Regions from separate parts of the Homo sapiens genome. Here region 1 is linked to region 2. Evidence: promoter capture Hi-C in 16 types of primary human blood cells and fetal thymus (Javierre and others, 2016). All regions are on one chromosome and are shown on one strand. Each heading gives the region's core, a stretch centred on a gene start or on the middle of the fragment in contact. The rest is flanking DNA. Distances are from core to core; before and after follow the strand shown. Region 1 has its middle 76 kb from the start of PKP2. Region 2 holds the start of SYT10 (synaptotagmin 10).

Region 1 (5,020 bases), core at 453-2,952, 470 kb after region 2:
AATACTGCTTTGAGGAGTTGTTTTTACTCCCTGGGTAATAAATGATGGATTATTAGATATAAACAAAACCCTAATATATGAAAATTAATTTTCTAATTATTCTTATCTCCCACAGACATTGGCTTGATCCAAAACTCTATTTTAACAATGACCTATTTTCTACAAGAAAATTTGGCTTAATTATGAATCAAAAAGCACAAAGATTCCCTTTTTCATAAAAAATCAGGCCAGGCACAGTGGCTCACACCTATAAATCCCAGCACTTTGGGAGGCTGAGGCGGGCAGATCACCTGAGGTCAGGAGTTCGAGACCAGCCTGGCCAACATGGAGAAACCCCATCTCTACTAAAAATACAAGCCATGGTGGTGTGTGCCTGTAATCCCAGCTACTCGGGAGGCTGAGGCAGGAGAATTGCTTGAACCAGGGAGGCGGAGGTTGTGGTGAGCCGAGACCGTGCCATTGCACTCCAGCCTGGGCAACAAGAACGAAACTCCATCTCAAAAAAAAAAAAAAAAATCATTTGCTGTGTTTTTATTTTATCCTCAAAGACTCCATCTGTGTCTGATCATTAGTGGTAACCAAATATTACTACATGGCCTTCTTTTAAATATCTATTTTTCACTCAATATAATATTAATCCTTGGAGGATTTAAGTTGCTTTGTCATGCTTTAGGATGGCTAATCTATCCAAAGCATCCTGTTTTAGAAAAAATGTATTACGTGTCTGCTGAAAAGTTCAGTAACCTGACCACAGCTAAAATACAATATTTTACATTGTACATAGGTTTCTTTTTTTGAGACGGAGTCTCACTCTGTCACGCAGGCTGGAGCGCAGTGGCACAATCTTGGCTCACTGCAATCTCCGCCTCCTGGGTTCAAGCATTTCTTCTGCTTCAGCCTTCCCAATAGATGGGATTACAGGCACCCGCCACCTTGCTCAGCTAATTTTTTAATTTTTAGTAGAGACAAGGTTTCACTATGTTGGCCAAGCTGGTCTTGAACTCCTGACCTCAAGTGATCTGCCTGCCTTGGCCTCCCAAGGTGCTAGGATTACAGGCGTGAGCCACCTCATCCGATCCTGTACATAGATTTCTAATGAAGATTTTTTTAAATACACGATTTACTATAAATTATAAAAGCCAAGAAGATAAATTAAAGAACTGTGAACATACAGTATGTGCTGAGTACTTATGAACTTTTGGTTATCCTCTATTATTTAACAAAGCGGGTCATGAATAGAAATCTCCAGCCACTCTCACCCTCCCAACAAATATCCAGCCACTCTGCCTTTTTTTGTCATGCCTCAGACATGCCAAGCTTGTTCTTCTCTGAAATATTTTACTCTTGAGATTTCTCCTTTTATTAGTTACGTATTTCTGCATAACAACATATCCCAAAACTTCATTATTTAAAAAATAAACTTTTATTATCCCCAAGTTCCCTTTGGTCAGAATTTCGGGAGGGGATTAGCTGGGTGCTCTGGCTTAGGATCTTTGATGAGGTTGCAGAAAGATGCACCCAGGGCAGCCATCATCTGAAGGCTTGACTGGGGAGCCTCCAAGATGCCTCACTCACACAGGTGGCAAGTTGGTACTGGCTGTTGGCAGGAGGCCTCAGTTCCATCACCTCCATAGAATTGCTTGAGTGTCCTCATGATTTGGCAGCTCGCTTCCCCCAGACAATGTCCCAGGAGATCAAAGGGGAAATGGCAATGTTCTTTATGTCCTAACCTCAGAATGTGGACACCACAACTTCCACTGTATTCTGCCAGTCACACAAACTAATCCTGATGCAGTGTGGAAGGGAATTCCATAGGGATGTAAATACCAGGAGGCAAGGACCACTGGTGTCATCTCAGAATGTGGCCACCACATCCCTCTCTCAGATCTTTTTACTTTTCCTTAGCTCATCTAATTCAGGTCTTTGCTGAAATGGGACCTCGTCTAAAGATCTTTCTACTTCTCTAAATTAGATTACCTTTGACCTATCACTTTCCTACATTATTTTTACAACACTTATCAATGCCTGGAATTCCATTATTTATTCACTTATGTGTTAACTTTTTATCATCTATCCCCCAAGCTTCATGATGAGAGTAACTTTGTCCACTTTGTTCACAATTCAGGCCATCACCAAGCACAGTGTCTAGCACAAAGTGGGTACCTCACAAATACCTTTTGAATAAATGAATGGTTTTTGAAGCAGGGGTAATGAGTTTACACTCAGCTCTTTATGGTCTTTCACAGTTTTGCAATTCTACATAGAGATAAACATTAGCAATAGCCTGAAGGATGATAAATCATAAGATCAGCGCTCCATTAAAAATAGTACTTATAAGTGAGTTATAGTGTTCATAAGTAATTAAGGTTTTCATTATTCAATATGAATGGTTTTTGCCTTTCTAAGGGAAATTTTCAGGATTTATTAAATACTTTAATTACTTTATGTAATATGAGAAAAGTAAATTATTTTAAATATTTAGGTATAATAAGAAACAGGGCTGGGTGCAGCAGCTCATGCCTGTAATCCCAGCACTTTGGGATGCCAAGGCAGGAGGATCACTTGAGCCCAGAGGTTTAAGACCAGCCTGGGCAACATGGTAAGATCCTGTCACTACAACTACAACAAAAACAAAAAAAGGTGGCACACGCCTAAGGTACTAGCTACTCCCAAGGCTGAAGTGGGAGGACTACTTGAGCTTAGGAACTTGAGGATGCAGAGAGCTGTCATTTGCACTATTGGACTCCAACCTGGACAACAGAGCAAGACCTTGTCTCAAAAAAAAAAAAAAATACAGTAAGCTATCAGAGGAGATAGCTTGGAAATAAATGTAGATGAAAGGAGATGTTAATTTTGGAAAGGGCTTAATCCCATGAAATACCATTACTTAAGTATGTAATACTTCAGCTTCTTGGAGCTTTTTATTATCTCAGTACCTGATGTACATATATATCATCTATCATTTTGTCACTGAACTAAATAAAGAAGTATGCTTATTTTAAATAGATAAATGATACTTTACTGACCGTGCTTTCTTACTTATATTTCTCTAGAAGGTAAAATTACAACTTGCCCTTTCCTTGCTAAGAAGAATATAATCAAAGTTAAAAACCTAATACTGAAGTTTCATCTAAAATGCTACTGTTTATACTCTGCACAAAAAATGATAGGAAATGGTCTGTCAGGCCAGCCGCGGTGGCTCATGCCTATAATCCCAACACTTGAAAAGGCTGAGGCAGATGGATCACTTAAGGCCAGGAATTGGAGACCAGCCTGCGCAACATGACAAAACCCCATCTCTACTAAAAATAGAAAAATTAGCTGGGCGTGGTGGCATAGGCCTATAATCCCAGCTATTCAGGAGGCTGAAGCACGAGAATTGTTTGAACCCGGGAGGCAGAGGTTGCAGTGAGCCAAGAATGCACCACTGTACTCCAGCCTGGGCAACAGAGCAAGACTCTGTCTCAGGGAAAAAAAAGAAAAGAAACGGTCTGTCAAATGCTCATTTATGCAAAGTCATTTGCACCTATGCAATTAGATTATCATGGAGACAATCTGCTCAGACTAATAGCTTTCATTGCAAATGAAATTATTCTAGTTTTAATCCATCTTAATTGAGTAGGAGAGCAGGAATGGGTAGGTGGGTCAGTAAATGAACCTCCAAGATCAAAGCAGATAAAAGGATGTTCATTCCAAAGTGGATCACTAAATAATTTTTTGGCACAGAGTAATAGAATCATTAAAATGGAAAAAAAAAATTAGAAATTATCTAATTCACCCTCTCAGCCAAAGCACAACTTTCCTCCACATAACTCAACCTCTATTTGAACTATAACTGTCATGGAGGTTACACATCTATATCCTCTTCTCTTCTTTTAAGCTTCTCTTCCCAGAATTAATGTTTCCCTTTCCTCCTATTCCTCATATGACATAATTTCCAGATTCCCTCATGTTAGTCCCTGGAACATGCCTTACTTAGTCAAAGTCTGCCTTTAAATCAGAACCTACAAGTTCTCCAATGGCGTGATCAGTGAAGAATAAAGTTGCCTTGTAATTTCTTATTCTTTGCAGAATAAATTTCATTAGTGTTTAAATAACTATGTGACACTGGTAGCACACAGTGAGCCTACAGTCAACTGAAGCTCCTAAATCCTTTTCACATGAACTGATGCTAAACCATAAATTCCCAAACCCGAATGTATTAAGTCAGTTTGCTAAATGTTTACATTTACTTTTATCCCAAAGAAATTTCATCTTGTTAGTCTACTTTCATTCATAGTAGCTGACTAATATTTAAATGAATCATTATTCAATGTAATATCCCAGGGCTGGGATTAGGGTGAGGCAAGTAAGGCACTCACCTCAAGCACAAAATTTAAGCTCTCAGGAATCAAGACAACTAATATTTGAAGGCAATCTTTTAAAAACTCAAAATCAATGCCAAAAATCTACGTTAAATAAAACATCAAAATTTTAAGCGAAAGTAGACTATTCTTGTTCATTTGTTTACTTTATGAGCCAGCACTATTGTGCAGCGGGAATAGTTTCCAAGCCACCTACAGTTCCCAGGGGCCATCGAGGCTCCCTGCCCCTGTCCCAGTGTGTTTATGAGGGCTGGCAATGACATGCAAACATACTGGACAAAGTGAAGTTTTATATGTAGTCATGGCATTTATTGTCAAGATTTTCGTTTTCCATTTGGTTTATAATATGGGAAGATATTTTCATAAAATATCTTCCAAATTTTACCAAAAATTTGGAGCACACATTTTTCCTTTCATCTTAGGCTCCATTTAGGCACATTACAGCACTGCAATCAGCATTTGCCCACATTCTCATCCTATCCCCAGATTTATGTTATCTGTACATTTGATAAATGTGCTTTTTGTATTTTTGCCTAAGGCACTGGTAAATATATTGATCTGAGAAATTCAAGTATAAATGCTAGTTCTCTGATTGAGAGAGCTTGCTCTAGTTTGAAAATAGTTCAAACAACTAAAAATTCACTTATTTGTCGTTA
Region 2 (5,092 bases), core at 571-3,070:
AACAGGCCAGGAACAGCATAAACAAATACCAGGAAAGTTATTTTCAGAATTTGTTTACCTAATGTTTAACACTGAAATCAAACACAAGAGGGTCATTAGGGAGACCTTCTGCATTACTCCACTTAAGCAATTAGAATCTGTAAGTAGTATAAAGATAATTACTCATTTGGTCCTCCTACACAGCAATTAGTTCATATGGTAAATATGAAAGTACAGCATTGCATTGCAGGCTGTTTTCTACCGGTCTGTCTGTGTAGACTGTAGCAGAATGGGGGGCAAAAGGCAATTGGAAAGGGCCTTATTAAAGTGTGTTATTTAGTTTTGTGCATACAGTAGATGTTTAATATTTTTTGATTGACAGTGAAATTATTTCTTTAGACAATTTGACTTAAAAACCACCCAAGTCAGTGTGCATAAAGACAAAAACCAAATGAAGCCTGCAGATTTTAGTTTGTCTTAATTCGTGGTAAAAATAGTCCTAGTTAAACCAATCGTCCTATGGATCAGGTCAAAATGATTCAACTAATGAATGCTTCCCTACTGGAGTGCTATGCCTAATATTTATACTAGGTTTACCATAGTCCTGTGCAAAGCAAATAATTTACCATGAACTGATTAGCTGTTTTTAAAAAAGACTACTTATTCTACTAGCATAGACACGCTAACAAGTTCAATGTATCCCACTTCAAAAATAAAGAATCCCTCATCACAAGAGGGTTAAATCAATCCTCAGGTTATGATATGGGATCAAACTCTGCCCGAAAACAGTTTAAAAACCATATAAACATATTATATCCTGAAGCCCATGTTTATTATTTTGTCGCTTTAGTTCTACTGATTTGCACCCATTTGCATTAAAGAATTATAAAAACAGGTGAGCTTAAGACATCCGAGTCCAAATCTCCCATTTTACAGACTCAGGCAAAGACCCGAAAGCAGGCCGGCCGTGGTGGCTAGTGCCAGCATTTTGGGAAGCTAAGGCGGTAGGATTGATTGAGCCCAGGAGTTCGAGACCAGCCAGGGCACCATAGTGAGATCCTTGTCTTTACAATAAGTTTAAAAAAAAAAAATAGCGCCTGGAGTCCCTGGAGTCCTAGCTACTAGGGAGGCTGAAGTAGGAGGATCGCCAAGACCTGAAAACAACTTCAAGGTTAGGCTGAGATGTGTGACAGATTTGAACTTAATCCTGTTCCCTTTAACACCCATGTCTTGTTTTAAGTCGCTAAGAAAGGAGATGGAGGGAGTCAAGTTGTGCATTCTCAATCGCCAATTACGGATTAATCGACAGAATCTTATCTGATTATTAGTACAAATAACATTTTATTTTGTGATCTACCTAAGAGGGTTTGCTTATTCACGCATTCTTTTTTCTAATTAACTTTTTCAGTTTTTCTTCGATTGGGATGACTTTTCCAGAAGGGCAGAAGCAGATAGCACAGAAAGTAGAATACATCCGTGGAAAAGTTGGAGAGACAAAGGCGGCGGGGATGGCTGCACTGATGCAGGGAAAAGTATTGGGAAAACGGAGAGGGCTCCTCGGGCCAACTCTGGGCAACGATGAGCATCCCCGGCCTCGGCAGGGGCGCCGGGCCGCCCGCCCTCCCTCCCTCCCTCCCTCGCGAGTCCCTTCTTCAGAGGACGCGGGGAGCCGGGTCTGCGCGCTCCGCCGCCTGTCACCTAGCGCCCGCGCCGGGCTGCGATTGGACGCGTCGCCGCCAGGCACCCGCCAGAAACACCAGTGCGCTGGGGAGAGGAGGGGGGCGTGCTTGCGAGTCGAGGGCTTGCTTTGGCTTTTTTACGGCTCCCCCCTCCCCTCAGCACTCCATGCCGGGTCTCTAGTTCCAGCGCGCCTCGGCTCGCTCGCGCGGCGGGAGAGTTGGCGCAAACCTCGCGGCAGCCGCAGCCTCCTCGCGCGCCTCTCCTTCCCCTACGCCCTCCGCTCCCGCCATGGGGCCAACGTGGGGCTCCTAAGAGTTGCCGGCTCTCAGCGGCGCAATCTCCAGCCAAAGTCACCGCGGGCGGACTATGGCTTAGGGCGCCAGAGGGGTTAGAGGTACGGGAAGAGGAAAAGACGGCTAACTGGGAAAAAAAGAGAAAACGAAAGAAAAGCCAAACGATGAGTTTCCACAAGGAGGACGGAGTGAACAGTCTGTGCCAGAAGGCTCTGCACATCGTCACCGAGCTGTGCTTCGCCGGCCAGGTGGAGTGGGAGAAGTGCTCGGGCATCTTCCCTCGGGACAGGGGCAGCCAGGGCGGAAGCAGCACAGGTAACCGGGAGGGCTCCGCTCGCGTCCTCGCGCTCCGCTGGGACCCCGCGCGCTAGGCTGCAAGCTCCGGGGTTCTGCGCCTCCCGCGCCGCTCCCGCGGCATATTTGGGGCGCCACGCTTTCCTACCTCGCTCCTTCCTTCGCTCAGCTCCTGACGACTTCGAGGGTGGGGCGTTTGGGTTTTGTTTCCTCCTGTCCACCTGCCGGGCTTCTCCCATTCTCTGGTCCGCTTCCCGCCTCCCGGCGCCGTCTCCCGCTCCCAGCCTCGCCGCGCCTCTCCGCGTTCTCCCACGCCTCCCATCTCCCTCCCGGAGTGGAGAAGTGAGTGCGGGCGGTGACGGCGCCGGGACGGCTCGCGGCTTGGCTGCTTGTGGGGGCGGCTCACCTGTGGGACTAGGGCTGCTCTCGCTCGTTCCACCGGCCGCTGGTCCCGGCCTTGTTGATGGGGGCCAGGCGGGACGGACAAGCCATGCTTGGACGCAGAACTCCCTTGCAGAGGTGGCTGCCTTGGCCTCCGAGGTAACCCGCGGCTGCAACCTGTCGGGCACCTGACAATTTCTAAAGCCCTTTTAATATATATGATTTTCTAGGGTTTCATGACAAAGTTGGTAAAACAAGGATTATTGATCCCATTTGTGAGGCGACACCTAAAGCTCAGAGCACATATCGAAGAAGTGGAAGAGAGGGGAGACGTTTAAAATCCCTAGCACACGCACGCTCTCAGACATCCAACTCACAGACGTCCTCCCTACCCTTCAGGAAACTAGGAAATGGGCTGGATGCAGGAGGATATCGACCGTCGGAAATCTGGAGATGGAAAAAAGTCTCAAGTGGATTTTCCTCAAGGCTTGGGGGTGGAAAGGATCGAATCCAAGCCACTGTTTGGGTCACGGTTGGGGAAAAGGTTGGTGTGTCCAGCCTGCTGTGCTCCTCGGGCGCACGCGAGGTGGATCCCCGAGTTGCGGGCTGCGTGGTTTCAAGAGCCGCTTGAGAGGGTCACTTGTTGCACTAGGAGTCAAAAAACACTGCTTTGGGGATTTTCGACTGGAAGGTTGCCATTCCTTCTCTAGGTTCTTTCCCTTTGCTTTTCCTGTCATTTTGATCTCCTGGCGGGATTTTAAGAGTTGAAGGTAGTCAGGGCAACAAGAGCTGGACAGCCAAGCTCAGGACAACATGGAGCCCTGCGTGCTGGGAGGGAGCAAAGCGGGGCACACTTAGTGAATCCTCTCCACCACCACCCCTGCGTCAAAGCCAAGCGGGGAGTGGGAATGGGTTTAGTTTAGCTTTTACATTCCATCGTTCACATGGGTAGCTGCAGGGTTTGGTATTCTCTGATCCACGGCAACGTGAGCCAAGGGGGCTCTGTCTGCACTTGGCAGAGCTTGAAGATATGCCGCTGCTTGGACCCTGGATAGGGAAACTTTAAAATTTTCTCAGTGTATAAACACAACTGAGAATCATTTCCATTCGTTCAGTAGGTGTTAAATTCCTAGGAGTGTATGAAACTCAGTGGAAGGCACTGTGTGAGCATGTTGTATTCTGTGTCGTGCGTATCGTTGCTAAGTATGAGGTAAAGACCAGAATAGTGTGACCTCAGAGTCCTCTGTGGTGATATTAGATAAGCTTTTCTGAAACGTCTTTAGTGACCCACTTGCTAAAGGTAACACTCAGAGAAGGGGCTACACTGGACGAAATGAGAGTATTTAAGTTTGAAGATTGTGCTTTGGTAATTGAACAGTTGATGCTGTAAATAAAACTACTGATTTTCCTCTTTCCTGCCCTTTTGTGATCACACACCAAATAGTGGTTTCCCGGGTCTCAGACTGGCTGGTAATGAGGAAAATATGTGGAAGTTAGAAACCAAATCCCAGCTCTGAAATCTGTCCAAAATGCACAACTGTATCAGCTTCAGATAAACTATAGTATATGAATTATAGAAATAGTTCTCAGTTTTTCCTAATCACTGCAAGAAGTAGTTGTAGTCTGAATTCCTTTTGAACTTTTCCCCTTGGGAATAAAAAGTGAGAAAAATTAGTCTAAAACAATTGCAAGAATATTTTCCTCCCCTTAAGAGGCAAAATAGACTACATAATATATACAAGTGGGGTATTCGATTTATAATATAGGAACACACATATTTATTGGCTATTACTAGGAAAGATATTCTACTAAGTTGTGTATGACATATAAAGACAAGATTGCTATACGTTTTTCATTTGCGAATCCAAGCAACAGTTAGAAGTAAAATACTTTAATCTGCAAATAGACACTCAAAGTTAATAGATATCTATGAAGTGGATTTAAAGATTGTTTGCCAAATATTTAATTATATTTCTTAGCCACCCAGCGTCACACTGTTCTTTAAAGTAGATTTTCTTATAACTTGTGCTCTCATGCTTGTTATTATAGGTTCCTAAATAAAGCACTTCCAGTGATCCTTCTACTCATCGTTTAATGAGAAGGCCATTTTTGGTAGGAAGACATCAACAATGTTGAATGGCACAGTGCTTATTTACTTTGAAAGTTAATCAGCACTGCCCAGATGGTATTGGTTGTTCTAACATTACAGTGATAATTACAAGCTCCAAAATTGTGTATATTTTTAATTCCTTCACATAGAGATAGTGGGAGAGAAATTCAGGTAATTCCAGTTAAAATCATTCTACATGAAGGGAGCTACAAATCATGTATATATGTAAGATATTATCTTACGGGTTTTGCAAATGCCAGTGAAGTGCAAGTATCACCATTATTTTTACCATATCAGCAGTAGCAGAAGCAGCAGCAGTATTGTTGCCATTGAGGATCTCACAGTCACAATATGA

What was found. The method cuts DNA at HindIII sites, captures the fragments that hold promoters and counts their contacts. A CHiCAGO score of 5 or more calls a contact.
Region 1: a fragment that was not itself captured here is called in contact with the fragment with the promoter of SYT10 in region 2 in 1 of 17 cell types (endothelial precursors); the score reaches 6.4 in endothelial precursors.

What each region holds. Positions count from the first base shown.
Region 1 is chr12:32,970,203-32,975,222 of GRCh38, reverse strand. No RefSeq gene overlaps it. Among named protein-coding and RNA genes, the nearest start is that of PKP2, 76 kb to the right of the region's middle. The HindIII fragment of the contact is 765 bases long and covers 1,320-2,084 here.
Region 2 is chr12:33,436,547-33,441,638 of GRCh38, reverse strand. It overlaps SYT10 (synaptotagmin 10), which reads left to right and starts at 1,820. Exons shown (of 7, transcript NM_198992.4): 1 at 1,820-2,267. The coding sequence starts at 2,117. RefSeq lists an enhancer at 2,093-2,909. The HindIII fragment of the contact is 7,804 bases long and covers 1-3,892 here.